Regions from separate parts of the Homo sapiens genome. Here region 2 is linked to region 1. Evidence: promoter capture Hi-C in human tissues and cell types (Jung and others, 2019). All regions are on one chromosome and are shown on one strand. Each heading gives the region's core, a stretch centred on a gene start or on the middle of the fragment in contact. The rest is flanking DNA. Distances are from core to core; before and after follow the strand shown. Region 1 holds the start of CDKN2B (cyclin dependent kinase inhibitor 2B). Region 2 has its middle 110 kb from the start of MIR31HG.

The links. Contacts are between HindIII fragments. The study calls those that stand out against the background at their distance.
Region 2: a contact is called between a fragment that was not itself captured here and the fragment with the promoter of CDKN2B in region 1, in 1 of the 25 tissues and cell types used here (dorsolateral prefrontal cortex).

What each region holds. Positions count from the first base shown.
Region 1 is chr9:22,005,557-22,012,195 of GRCh38, reverse strand. It overlaps CDKN2B (cyclin dependent kinase inhibitor 2B), which reads left to right and starts at 2,891. Exons shown (of 2, transcript NM_004936.4): 1 at 2,891-3,398; 2 at 5,949-6,639. The coding sequence starts at 3,243. The coding sequence ends at 6,209. The region is part of intron 1 of CDKN2B-AS1 (CDKN2B and CDKN2A antisense cis and trans regulatory RNA 1); the gene reads right to left. It also overlaps the pseudogene UBA52P6. RefSeq lists silencers at 932-1,226, 3,350-3,549. The HindIII fragment of the contact is 12,658 bases long and covers 1-6,639 here.
Region 2 is chr9:21,664,430-21,671,068 of GRCh38, reverse strand. No RefSeq gene overlaps it. Among named protein-coding and RNA genes, the nearest start is that of MIR31HG, 110 kb to the right of the region's middle. The HindIII fragment of the contact is 6,599 bases long and covers 762-6,639 here.

The DNA of each region.
Region 1 (6,639 bases), core at 1,642-4,141:
GTGATGGTCTTGCCCGTGAGGGTCTTCACAAAGATCTGCATCTCTGTGTCTGCAGCTCGGCTGCCTCGCTGAAGAAAAAGAGGATGGCAGATCTGTTCATACTTCTATATCAAGGTCATATACAGACAATTTCACCAACTAGAATATAAAAATATTATTACTAGTGATCTGAGTTATGTGCAACATTGGAATGGATGCCACTCATTCCCTTCTACTGACCTCCAAAATTCTATGCCAATTTACCATTAACTTTCTCTTTCTTTCTTCTCAATTATAAATTCTCCACCTTATTAAAAGACATGGCTCTGACAATTCCAAGTTTCAGCTGCCCACTATGTTCCCATCCACTTCATCTTTTAAATGTGTTTAAAGCATTAACAACAGATTGTGTTTCACCCTAGAGACAGCTGGGTTTCAAGGAGAGGTAAAATGTTTCATAATCTCACTCTATTGTCCAAGACAAATGTGCTATTGTATTACATGTGAAATGTCATCTTTGAAGTCTGGTAAGGGTGTGCTGTGAGGTGAGCCATCTGGAAAACACAGTGTAGACTGAAAAATAATTATAAGCCAGTTTATTACTTTTTTCCAGTTAAGCCTACCATGACAGCTGCTAAAAAAAACACTATGTAGTATAAAGGGTAAAAAGACTCTGAAGTCGCAAAAGTTATACCCACCTCCAACAATGATTAGCTAGTATACAAGTCACTCAAATTCTCTGATCCTTTTGGCTTGTCTGTAAAATTGAAATATGGACACATGCCACAGAGGAGTTTTATGAGTATTAAATGAAACAACAGCTGTAAAGCACTTCGTACAGAGTACACAATAAGTTTGATTTCTCTTCTCGTCTTCTAAATATAGACTATATAATATTCTTTATACAGAGAATATTAGATAAAATCCAATCATATTTGAAAACCAGGTTGAGCAGGTTGGTTTTTCAAAGAAATTCATTGAGCTTCCATAATGTCCTTTCTATTTGACGGGAGAAAAGGGGCTTTGGAAGATCAAGTGTGAAGCTTTAGAATTCTGTCTGGAGCTGGTTAGGACCACCCAGGCCTGAGTATAAGCAAAGCGCTGTCCGTGGTGCTAGTAAGCGCGAATGCCCCCGGCAACGTTTTCCCTACCCAAAGTTGTTTTTCATTCAGTCAACTTGCTTCGCGAAGCTCACACATCTGCCTCGTGCAAGATTCTCAGTCATTTTACTTAGTCATTGGTTCTTTCCCTATCACCATTCTTTATGTCCCCCTCAAAGAAAAACATTATCTTCCATTTCCTTATCAACTCCAAACAGCTTTCATTTTTCTGACATATTTACTACCTAAGAAAATGGCTCAAGAATTGGGTCAGACTATCTTGTCCTAACTTTTCTGATAAGTTTCAGAGAAACTCAAAGGTCAAAACAAGAGCATAAGAGTAAAAGGTAGAGAAATTAAGAAACTGAAGACTAGGAAATGGGGGTTGGATGGGAAAGAAAAAGAAATTGTTATTAATGCTACCCGGTTCCCTTCCCTGTCCAGGTGGATTTCAGCTCTGTTGAGGCTCTGTCAGTAGATTTTCAGCCCTAACCAGCACTTCCATGGTGGTGGCACTTCCACTGCCTTTAAAAGAAAGAGCTTTTTTTAATTCTACAGGGATTTGGGGGATGAGGAGTCAGAGCTAAGGTATCCTAAAAAAAACATGTGAAGACTCTCATTTTGCAATACACAAGCAATTGCCCTCCTGTTAAGACTTTGTCTTCCTCAGCACTCCGAACCAAAATGATTCTGTAAACAAAAATTGTTCACTTTTAGGAGAGGTCCACTTATGCAGTTCCTCACCAAAGTTTTTAGGCAACAAATCCATAACTTGCGGTTCTCTTCCTATCCAATGTAGCATCCGCTGAAATGTTTTAAATATTTTAAGTAATAAATGTTGATTCAAACTCACCTAGGAAGATTAGGAAGGGGAAAAAAAGCACTTGGCATTTAAATCTTCAGAAGAGAATTTAATGACAGGTTCAGCCTGTTTAATGACAAGCCCAGCACCACACCCCTCTCTTATGATGTTTCATTATTACTGCATAAATTTCCTTTATTACTCATGATAAATAAAAATAAGATACCTGACAAAGTGGGTTTAAATAGGTAAGAGTGCAAACAAAGATTTACTGTACAAATATGATGAAACTGGGATCTCAGATTCTTAAAGTATAATTTTTTTTTGTCTTATGTGTGCCAGGTTGCCACTCTCAATCTCGAACTAGTTTTTTTCTCTTTTAAGGGTTGTATCCATAATGCAAAAATGGAAAGAATTAAAAAGCACACGCAAAACATGATTCTCGGGATTTTTCTCTATTTTTATGGTTGACTAATTCAAACAGAAAGACACATCCAAGAGAAAATTGCTAAGTTTGATACAAGTTATGAAACTTGTGAAGCCCAAGTACTGCCTGGGGATGAATTTAACTTGTATGACAGGTGCAGAGCTGTCGCTTTCAGACATCTTAAGAAACACGGAGTTATTTTGAATGACTTTCTCTCGGTCACAAGGGAGCCACCAACGTCTCCACAGTGAAACCAACTGGCTGGCTGAAGGAACAGAAATCCTCTGCTCCGCCTACTGGGGATTAGGAGCTGAGGGCAGTGGTGAACATTCCCAAAATATTAGCCTTGGCTTTACTGGACATCCAGCGAGCAGTGCAGCCAGCATTCCTGGCGGCTCCCTGGCCCAGTCTCTGGCGCATGCGTCCTAGCATCTTTGGGCAGGCTTCCCCGCCCTCGTGACGCGTCGGCCCGGGCCTGGCCTCCCGGCGATCACAGCGGACAGGGGGCGGAGCCTAAGGGGGTGGGGAGACGCCGGCCCCTTGGCCCAGCTGAAAACGGAATTCTTTGCCGGCTGGCTCCCCACTCTGCCAGAGCGAGGCGGGGCAGTGAGGACTCCGCGACGCGTCCGCACCCTGCGGCCAGAGCGGCTTTGAGCTCGGCTGCGTCCGCGCTAGGCGCTTTTTCCCAGAAGCAATCCAGGCGCGCCCGCTGGTTCTTGAGCGCCAGGAAAAGCCCGGAGCTAACGACCGGCCGCTCGGCCACTGCACGGGGCCCCAAGCCGCAGAAGGACGACGGGAGGGTAATGAAGCTGAGCCCAGGTCTCCTAGGAAGGAGAGAGTGCGCCGGAGCAGCGTGGGAAAGAAGGGAAGAGTGTCGTTAAGTTTACGGCCAACGGTGGATTATCCGGGCCGCTGCGCGTCTGGGGGCTGCGGAATGCGCGAGGAGAACAAGGGCATGCCCAGTGGGGGCGGCAGCGATGAGGGTCTGGCCAGCGCCGCGGCGCGGGGACTAGTGGAGAAGGTGCGACAGCTCCTGGAAGCCGGCGCGGATCCCAACGGAGTCAACCGTTTCGGGAGGCGCGCGATCCAGGTAGCTGGGGCCCCAGGGCCTCGCCGGCAGGGGGCGCGCGAACGCGGGGCGCGGCCTCGGCGGATCGGGGCTGGAACCTAGATCGCCGATGTAGATTTGTACAGGAGTCTCCGTTGGCCGGAGGTGTGCATTCCACGCGTAAAACAGGCTTTTACCCAGCAAAAATCCTAAAGAGAGACATTGAAAAACCCACTGTTTAAGCTTTTTTTAGTGGTTTTTGTTCTGCCATCTCATGATCAGAGATGCAAGGAATAGACTGAATTGGGGAGAAAAGGAGAAAAGGAAAGCTTATTTAGGGAAGAAGATTATCTTGTCTGTCTGCTTTCAACGATAAAGATAAGTAAAGTATAAGTTACGCATTCTAGATTGGATTTAAGGAATTCTACAAAATCATAGTACATGGAAAAAATCAATGTAAACTTCTAAGCTACTATATGAAATCTGTTGTATTGTTTTCTCATAGAGGTTAATTGAGAATGAGACGGGATTCCTCAACCACAGTACTTAGTTCCTTTTATGTTAGCAGTGTCTTATGAGTGATGCATAAGAGAAAAAATATATAGTTCTATAGGTTTCTCATTCTTTAATTATCATACTCAGTGCCCAGATTACAAAAATATTCCTGCAGCAACTGTTAGGTCCTTTTTGAATGGCAAAGGATCTTCATAAATAATGCATCTTTATCTTCATTGTTAAAATACACTTATTCAATGTTTAAGTACGAATCCTGCTTTAATTAGTACTGATATTTTTTATTTCTTTTACAATCTCGGACAACTCTTTTGTACTTTACCGTTGGCTAGTGGTCATATTCAGTACTCACCTCACTATCACCCTCTAAAACTAAGCTAATATTAAGGGATCTTGTTAATAGTATAGATTTTAAAGAAGTGTTCATTTCTTTTGAATTCTTAGAATAATGGTATAACAAATGAGGGATTTTTAAAGGAGCAAAAATATTGTAAAGTGCATCTTAAAAACTTAAAATTTTATTAATAATTATAAAAACAAGTTATATATGTAATTCACCATTTTCTGAAATACTAACAGCAGCTATTTTCCCCTTTTTTTCTATGTAAAATATCCTTACATCACTAGTAGATATAACTTATCACGGTTTTTAAGAGATGAAATGAACATTTCTAATATTAATGAAACAAGCCAACAAAACATGAGAAGTATACTGCCTTTCAATTAAATGGTATATTTTAAAGTGCATAAACCCATAACAAATAACTCGATTTTAGACATTTAGTTACCAAAAATTGTCTTATAATTGACTTTAAATATGACAGCAAATGTTTTCATAATGTTCATGTACACAAATGGCTGCTACAGGATTACTCCTGCAAAACATCATTTTTTCTAAGTTATGCATCATCCTGATTGACTGCTAACATCCAAGCTCTATTTATTTATTTATTTATTTTATTTTTTTTGAGATGAGGCCTCACTCTGTCGGACAGGCTGGAGTGCAGTGGCACAATCTCAGCTCACTGCAACCTCTTCCAGGATGCAAGCGATTCTCCTGCCTCAGCCTCCTGAGTTGCTGGGACTACAGGCACGCCCCACCATGCCCAGCTAATTTTTTATTTTTTGTAGTAGAGACGGGATTTCACCATGTTGGCCAGGCTGGTCTCGAACTCCTGACCTCAGGTGATCTGCCTGCTATGGCCTCCCAAAGTGCTGGGATTACAGGCATAAGCCACTGGGCCTGGCCCAAGCTCTTTTTATATAGCAAAATATTTACTGTTTAACATTTTTAAATCTTAGCTATTATAAAATCCTGTAGTATACAAATATAGTTAGTTTTATATTACATTAAAAATATTATAGTCTAAATTTAAAATGATGAACTGTTAAGGAAAAATCATTTATTATAATTTTATAAGATTTTGCATGATTTAATTTACTTTTCCCTTCTAATCTCCAACTTTGGCTCAAATTATCACACTACAAGCCAGTTATGAGCTCAGACACATGACAAACAAAAGCCTTCCGCACGGGATTTGCTATGAGAACTAAATAAATTAAAAAAAAAAGAAAGAAAAAAACTTAGTTGTTTATTTTCTCCCCTAAACCATTACTCCCAACTTCTAACAAACAGTAGTTGACTACCTAATAAATATTTGTAGACCTGGATTATGGAGGAGGGGTCAGCAAGGCAAATAATTTAAAACTTTAAAAGCCGAATAAATTTAACTCTGCCCCTAAATCATTTAACAAAATAGATTCCCATGTTCCAATGGAAATCAAGATTTGTTTTTCCATAATGATGATCATCACTTTACCATCAACTTTCTTGTCTCTGCACGTTTAGAGAATAAAATGGCATTTAATTTGTACTGAGTATAACCTGAAGGTGGGGTGGGAAAGTGGATTGCATCAGCAAATGAAGAAACACCAGACATCAGAGACCTGAACACCTCTGCACTGGGTGAAAACTTTGCAATTAGGTGTTTCTTTAAATGGCTCCACCTGCCTTGCCCCGGCCGGCATCTCCCATACCTGCCCCCACCCTGGCTCTGACCACTCTGCTCTCTCTGGCAGGTCATGATGATGGGCAGCGCCCGCGTGGCGGAGCTGCTGCTGCTCCACGGCGCGGAGCCCAACTGCGCAGACCCTGCCACTCTCACCCGACCGGTGCATGATGCTGCCCGGGAGGGCTTCCTGGACACGCTGGTGGTGCTGCACCGGGCCGGGGCGCGGCTGGACGTGCGCGATGCCTGGGGTCGTCTGCCCGTGGACTTGGCCGAGGAGCGGGGCCACCGCGACGTTGCAGGGTACCTGCGCACAGCCACGGGGGACTGACGCCAGGTTCCCCAGCCGCCCACAACGACTTTATTTTCTTACCCAATTTCCCACCCCCACCCACCTAATTCGATGAAGGCTGCCAACGGGGAGCGGCGGAAAGCCTGTAAGCCTGCAAGCCTGTCTGAGACTCACAGGAAGGAGGAGCCGACCGGGAATAACCTTCCATACATTTTTTTCTTTGTCTTATCTGGCCCTCGACACTCACCATGAAGCGAAACACAGAGAAGCGGATTTCCAGGGATATTTAGGAGTGTGTGACATTCCAGGGGTCGTTTGCTTTTCAGGGTTTTCTGAGGGAAAGTGCATATGAAATCCTTGACTGGACCTGGTGGCTACGAATCTTCCGATGGATGAATCTCCCACTCCAGCGCTGAGTGGGAGAAGGCAGTGATTAGCACTTGGGTGACGGCAGTCGATGCGTTCACTC
Region 2 (6,639 bases), core at 2,812-5,311, 340 kb after region 1:
GCCAGGCTGGTCTCAAATTCCTGACCTCAGATGATCCACCTGCCTCGGCCTCCCAAAGTGCTCGGATTACAGGCATGAACCATCATGCCAAGCCTGCAAAGGCCTTACTTTTAATTTTTCATAAATCATGGAGGATTTAAGATTACCTTTCCAACAACATTGCTTCTACTCAATTGCATTATACTACATTTACTTTGGGAGAGAGACAGACTGGCTGGGAAATAACACTTTTAGAATCAGTATTTAGCACAGTATATAGCCTGCCTTAACTACATTGAAACCTAAGAGAAACTTTGCTGATATACTAAAAATAGTTGCAAATGAATGAAAAGTTTGATATTTGATAGTAAGGCAGGACTAGCTACATACACCTCTTGTTTTATTTGGGAAAATGTATTGATGGGGCATCTGAGTCATATTCTCATTCTTCCTTGAACCTCACCCCAAACTCGGGGGTAAGAACCTTGTGATAAGGCAGGGTGAGACAAACCACATCGCTTTCATTTTCTCTCTTTTTCTTCCTGCCCAAATGGAACAGACAGAAGCCCAACTAGCAGCATAGTGAGGTAGCAACCTCAGGCATTTAGACCAAAACTAAACACAGATGAGACAGAATCAGGGAAGTTCTTTGTCAGAGGGCAGATATTACATTTGGACCCCACTTTATTGCAGGAGGCATGAATCTATTAAATTCAACATTTCTTATTCAATTGGGTAGATATTATCCAAATATCACCTCTGGTACCTCTTTCTGGGGTCTTACCTGTTCCGTAACAGAATAAAACTTGATGTAGATAGCTTCAAGTATAATTACTTAGTAGAATAAATAAGAAAACCCTACTTAGTTTCAAAAGTCATTGAATTTAGTAAACACTCCCCCTCTTCAACGAAAATCATATACAGTAAGAAAGAAAAATAGAAATAGAAAATAAGCAGTAAGGATAAGAAGAATGCAAATGCGATGACAGTAAAAGTTAACATAATAGCCATGTTTAACTTTAAAATTAGACACTAAAATCTGGGCGACTAAGGAAGAAAACAATCAATCATCCATAGCCTTTTGTGGCTGTCGATCACCAACATCTGCATGACCTGGGATTTTGTTAGAAGTGCAAATTCTCAGTACAGCCATTATGGAAAATAGTTTGAAAATTTCTCAAAAACTTAAAAATAGAGCTTTCGTAATGTTCCAGGAATCTCACTTCTGGCTATACATCCAAAGGAAATGAAATCAATATGTTGAAGAGATATTTGCACTCCTCTGTTTATTGCAGCACTAGTCACAATAGCTAAGATACAGAATCAATCTAAGTGTCCATCAACAGATAAATAGATAAAGGAAATGTGGTGTATATACACAATGGAATACTGTTCCACCATAAAAAAGAAGAAAATCCTGTCATTTGTGACAACATGGATGAACCTGGAGGACATTATGGTAAGTGAAATAAGCCTGGCGCAGAAAGACAAATACCGCATGATTTCCCTTATATGTGGAATCTAAAGAATTGACTTATTAGAAGAGGAGGGTGGAATTGTGTTTACCGGGGGCTGGCAGGGTGGGTTGAGGAGATGCTTGTCAAAGGGTACAAAATTTCAGTTATATTGGAGAAATAAGTTCAAGAGATCTATGATACAACATGGTCACTATAGTTAATAAAAATGTGTTGTATTCTTGAAAATTGCCAGGAGAGTAGATATTAAGTGTTCTCATACCACAAAAAATAAGTATATAAGGTAATATATATGTTAATTAGCTTGATTTAGCTGCATATATTTTACATATAATATATTAACATATAATACTATAATACCTATATAATATAAAAATATAAAAGTATATATTAACTTATAATACATATATTAATTAGCTCGATTTAGCCACATATATTTGAAATACATGTTTATAATATTTCAAAACATCATGTTGTACATGATAAATATATACAATTTATATTTGTCAATTAAGAAAAATAAATGAATAAATCAGAATAAAAAGAAATTCAAAATTTCAGGCATAACTCTAGACCCACTAAATCAAAGTCTTGGGAATAAATTCCAGGAATCTTTATTTAACAAGCTTTCTGAGCGATTCTGATACCTTTTAAAGTATGATAAGCTCTGCTGTTTCATAATCAGAGGTGGTAAATTAGGGAAAATTCTTTTGGGGCAGCAACAGACCACCAGCAATGTGCTTCAGCTTCAAGTGCTGAGTGAGCAAGCAAGACCCTGATTGGAAAGAACCTTTTTGGAGCCAGCTGGCAGACCCGAAACAATTCTGGGCACGAATATTCTGGGCACAGGGACTCCACTGTGTGGCTGCCAGAGCCTACCTCTCAGAGAAGCACTGGGGCCAGCCAAGAAACAAATGCCATTTCTTTCACTTCCTTTTTCTTCTCTTTCCTGACCCAGTGGCACTGGTGACCTGCCCGCCAGATTTAATTACAGGCTGGGAGAGAAGTTCTAGTGTTTAGATTTGGTTCCCTAAGGAAATAATGACTGATTTCAGCTGGTGAGATTTGTGCTTTCAAAAGGATAGAAGGACTGCATGAGCTCAGAAGCCTGAAAGATTAGCATCCTCTGTGAGAGCATCCAACCAACCTCAAGGATGAGCTGAAAACAGGATGAACAGTGGCCAAGAAATGTAGTTCACCTTGCTGGGATTTATGGCGCAGCCAGGAATATTTGTAGGAAGCACAGAAACCTGTCCAGGTTCAGCACTAGCCCACACACATTCCTGGAGACTTGTTTCTTCTTTATCATATAGTGGTTAGCAACATATAACATATATATTGGGTTCACAGGTCTAGGCTCATATTTCCCAAAAATAAGCCTAGTGCATCCTCTTTATTCTTCTCACACTTTCATTCTGTTTCTGGTACTTAAGGCAGATGTCAGAGTAAATGTTTGTCTCCCCAAAGCATCATAAATACACATAGAAGGATTTAAAATGAGAAATACCATCTCCCTCATAGGATTAATAACATAAATATTATCCATTTTTCACTTGCATGGAAACTTATAGACCTCTTTTTTGTTGTTGTTAAATTGTGTCAAAGTTTTGCCTAGAGGCTGAAATGCAGTGTCCATAAGAAACTTCATTTTCCTCTTCAATTTAAAGAAGGTTTCAATCACAAAGATAATTATAATGGAACATGAAAAACTAGTATTAATTCTTCCTCATATTTTAACATGTCCTTATTGAAGTTTAAAATGAAATATATATATCAAGTTGATCTTTACGTAAAATATTGACTAGAACCCAGAGATACAAATAGTAAGAACTACTTGGTGTTCAGTTTGGTCGTTGCAATGAAAGAAAATGCTCATTTCCCACAATCCTGTCCAAATTAAAAACCTTTTTGAACGAGTGACCTATTATGATAAGGAGACATCTCTGGTTACAACTCTTACAAAACTTCAACTTTTTTTCAACACAACAAGCATCACTTTTGACACTTCTGCTCCACAGAAGACAGAAGCCCTTACAAATTTGCTGTCTCTCAATCAGTCCCATTCTTTGCGTTAGAGGTCAGAGGCTCGAGGTAATAAAGTTGGTGTGAACTTTTTGTGATATCCAGAGGGAGAACCCAGCTTTACATGCAGAGAAATGCTAAGAGAGAAATTATTTCTTTTAAATATTTTGGAAAAATTGTCATTTTTCCCTATACAAATACAATAGAACAACGAGTAGAGTGGAAGATATCTTGGATTTGACACTAGAAGTCACTGGTTCATGTTCTAGATCTCCTCACTAAGTTTTTGAGCCTGAATGAAGCACTTGAAGTGTCTGAGTTTCTATTTTCTCATTCTATAAAGTAGGTCATAGCAAGATCCAGTACCACCTTTAGACCCTGAATTTTGAAGGGCTCTGATCTAGTTTTCCTATGGTGTCCCTTCACAAAGGGTTAAAGGTCAAAGGGACCAAGGGAAGCCTGGCTCACCCAGACCTTTTCTAGACTATGATCTGAGACACAGCTTTCTAGAGTTCTATGTCCAAAGTGGACCCAAGCTCTATTCTAGGAATAAGCATGTTCCCTGGCCCATCCTCCTGAGGGCATAGCATAGGCCAAAGAAGTGGCCAAGGGAATTCTATTTGCATAGTGTGGACAGACCTTGCACATAACAGGCTAGAGTATCCACATACAAGTTTCAAGGTCCCTTATGATCTAGGAATGAGTGAGGAATGAGAAAAGCAAGTTGGGAGGCCATGGACTGAAGGTTTCCATTTGTATTTTTGCTGGGACTTCACAGATGTCATGGGGAGGTCCACTGTATCTGCCTATCTTATTGCATCATTCATTCCAAACCAGATACTGAATGGCTGTTCTTGTCTGACATAATGTAGTCTCTGTTAACAGAAAGACAAGGAACCTCATACTTTAGAAATCATCAGTCTAATGGGAAGGCTTCTAATTATAAAGACATATTTTCTTTTCTTTTCTTTTTTTTTTTTTTTTGAGGTGGAGTCTCACTCTGTCGCCTAGGCTGGAGTGCACTGCCACAATCTCGGCTCACTGCAAGCTCAGCCTCCCAAGTAGCTGGGACTACTGGCGCCCGCCACCATGCCCGGCTAATTTTTTGTATTTTTAGTAGAGACGTGGTTTCATCGTGTTAGCCAGGATGGTCTCGATCTCCTGATATTGTGATCCGCCCGCCTCAGCCTCCCAAAGTGCTGGGATTACAGGTGTGAGCCACCGCACCAGGCCTGTAAATATATATTTTCAACAGAATATGTAAAGGGCTATAAAACGCCACCTTCTTCTTACCCCCTGCATCAGCTCAAATGACAGCAGACTCCTGAGTCAGCCTTGTCCAGTCATTGGAACAAATGTCAATCAAGATCACACTGCATGGCAAGAAAGCGCCATGAGGAGAAGATTCTACAAACAAGTTAATCTCACTTTGTGTATATGACACAGGACACGTTTGTTGTCCCCACATTTGTTGTAGGGATGTGATAGCAGAGAAGTCAAGAGCCACCAACTCTGGAGCCATAGACACTGGGAGCTGAACCTCTTTTTGCCATACACTATTAATATTTCTTATGACTAATAACTTTTCTAAGCTCAGTTTCTTAATTTGTAAAATGGAGATAAAGCTCTTTTCCTCCTATGCAAAATGGAACTACTGTAAATATTATAGAAAATAAAAATTTTAAAGTACCTAGTATAGGATCTGGTATATAGTGAGCACTAAATAAATGAAAGCTATTATTAAAAAGCTGAGGAAGTCAATTGGATTTATGTATCATTTCTTTATATGCACAGCATATATATTTTCTATAACTCTATATTGCATTTTCCAAGAGTCATTGCAAAATAAAATTTTATATAATCTAAAGAAGCAGCATCCAGCTTTTAATGTTTCTTCTTGATTCAACTTCTTTGTGGGTAGAGATTGTCTTATTTATGTTTTTCTTTCTTTATACCTAGGATGGTCCCTGGCATGATATGTTTTGGCGGGCTGAATAAATACATGAATTTAAGAGAGAGGGAGAAAACATTTTCAGTCATGTTCAATGTCTATGATCACTTACCTTAAACTGAAAACAAGACAGTTATTGGAATTTCTCTAAAGGCAGATGCAGTAGGAGCTTTGCCCTCCTCCTCTCAACCAGAACAAACTGAATTTTATGGAAGAAAATTCTTAGCTGACTCTTTAAGACTGTAAAAGGACATCGGAAATAGAATCATTTGTGTATAGTGATTGGCTTTACATATTCAGCTTTCATGGAGTTAAGGAGACTGTTCTAAGAAATAAAATTTAACTTGTTATCAGTTGAATATTTATCCAAAAGATGACTAGATGACATACTCAATCCTTTTATGACCTATACATCTGGGAAATAAAAGATACCAAGACCAAGAAAAACAGAAACATCTTTTCAAGTGATTGTTGTCCCTCCCTCCCAACTCCTATGAGAACATACGTCTGAAAACATTAGAAATCAATGGGAAAAGATAATTAAATATTCGAAGTTTCTCTTTATCATAACTTTTTTTTTGTTGTTGTTTTTGAGATGGAGTCTGCCCAGGCTGGAGTGCAGTGGCGTGATCTTGGCTCACTGCAACCTTCGCCTCCAGAGTTCACGTGATTCTCCTGCCTCAGCCTGCTGAGTAGCTGTGATTACAGGCACCCGCCATCATGCCTAGCTAATTTTCGTATTTTTAGTAGAGACAGGGTTTCACTGTATTGGCCAGACTGGTCTCGAACTCCCGACCTCGTGATCCGCCCACCTCGGCCTCCCAAAGTGCTGGGATTACAGGCGTGAGCCACTGCGCCCAGCCTATGCATAACTTTTTAATAGTAAAGACACAAGTGGTATATTTCAAGGATGTTAGGAATCAGATAATTTCCTGTTTAATTTTTTTTTTTTTCCAAACAGAAGCTCACTCTGTCACCCAGGCTGAAGTTCAATGGTGTGATTCTAGCTCACTGCAGCCTTTAACTCTTGGATTCAAACAATCCTCCCACCTCAGCCTCTTGAGTAGCTGGGAGTACAGTTGTGTGCCACTATGCCAGGCTAATTTTTTAAGTTTTGTAGAGACAAGGCCTACCATATGTTGCCTAGGCTGGTCTTGAACTCCTGGACTCAAGCAATCCTCTGGCCTTGCCCTTCCAAAGTGCTAGGGTTAC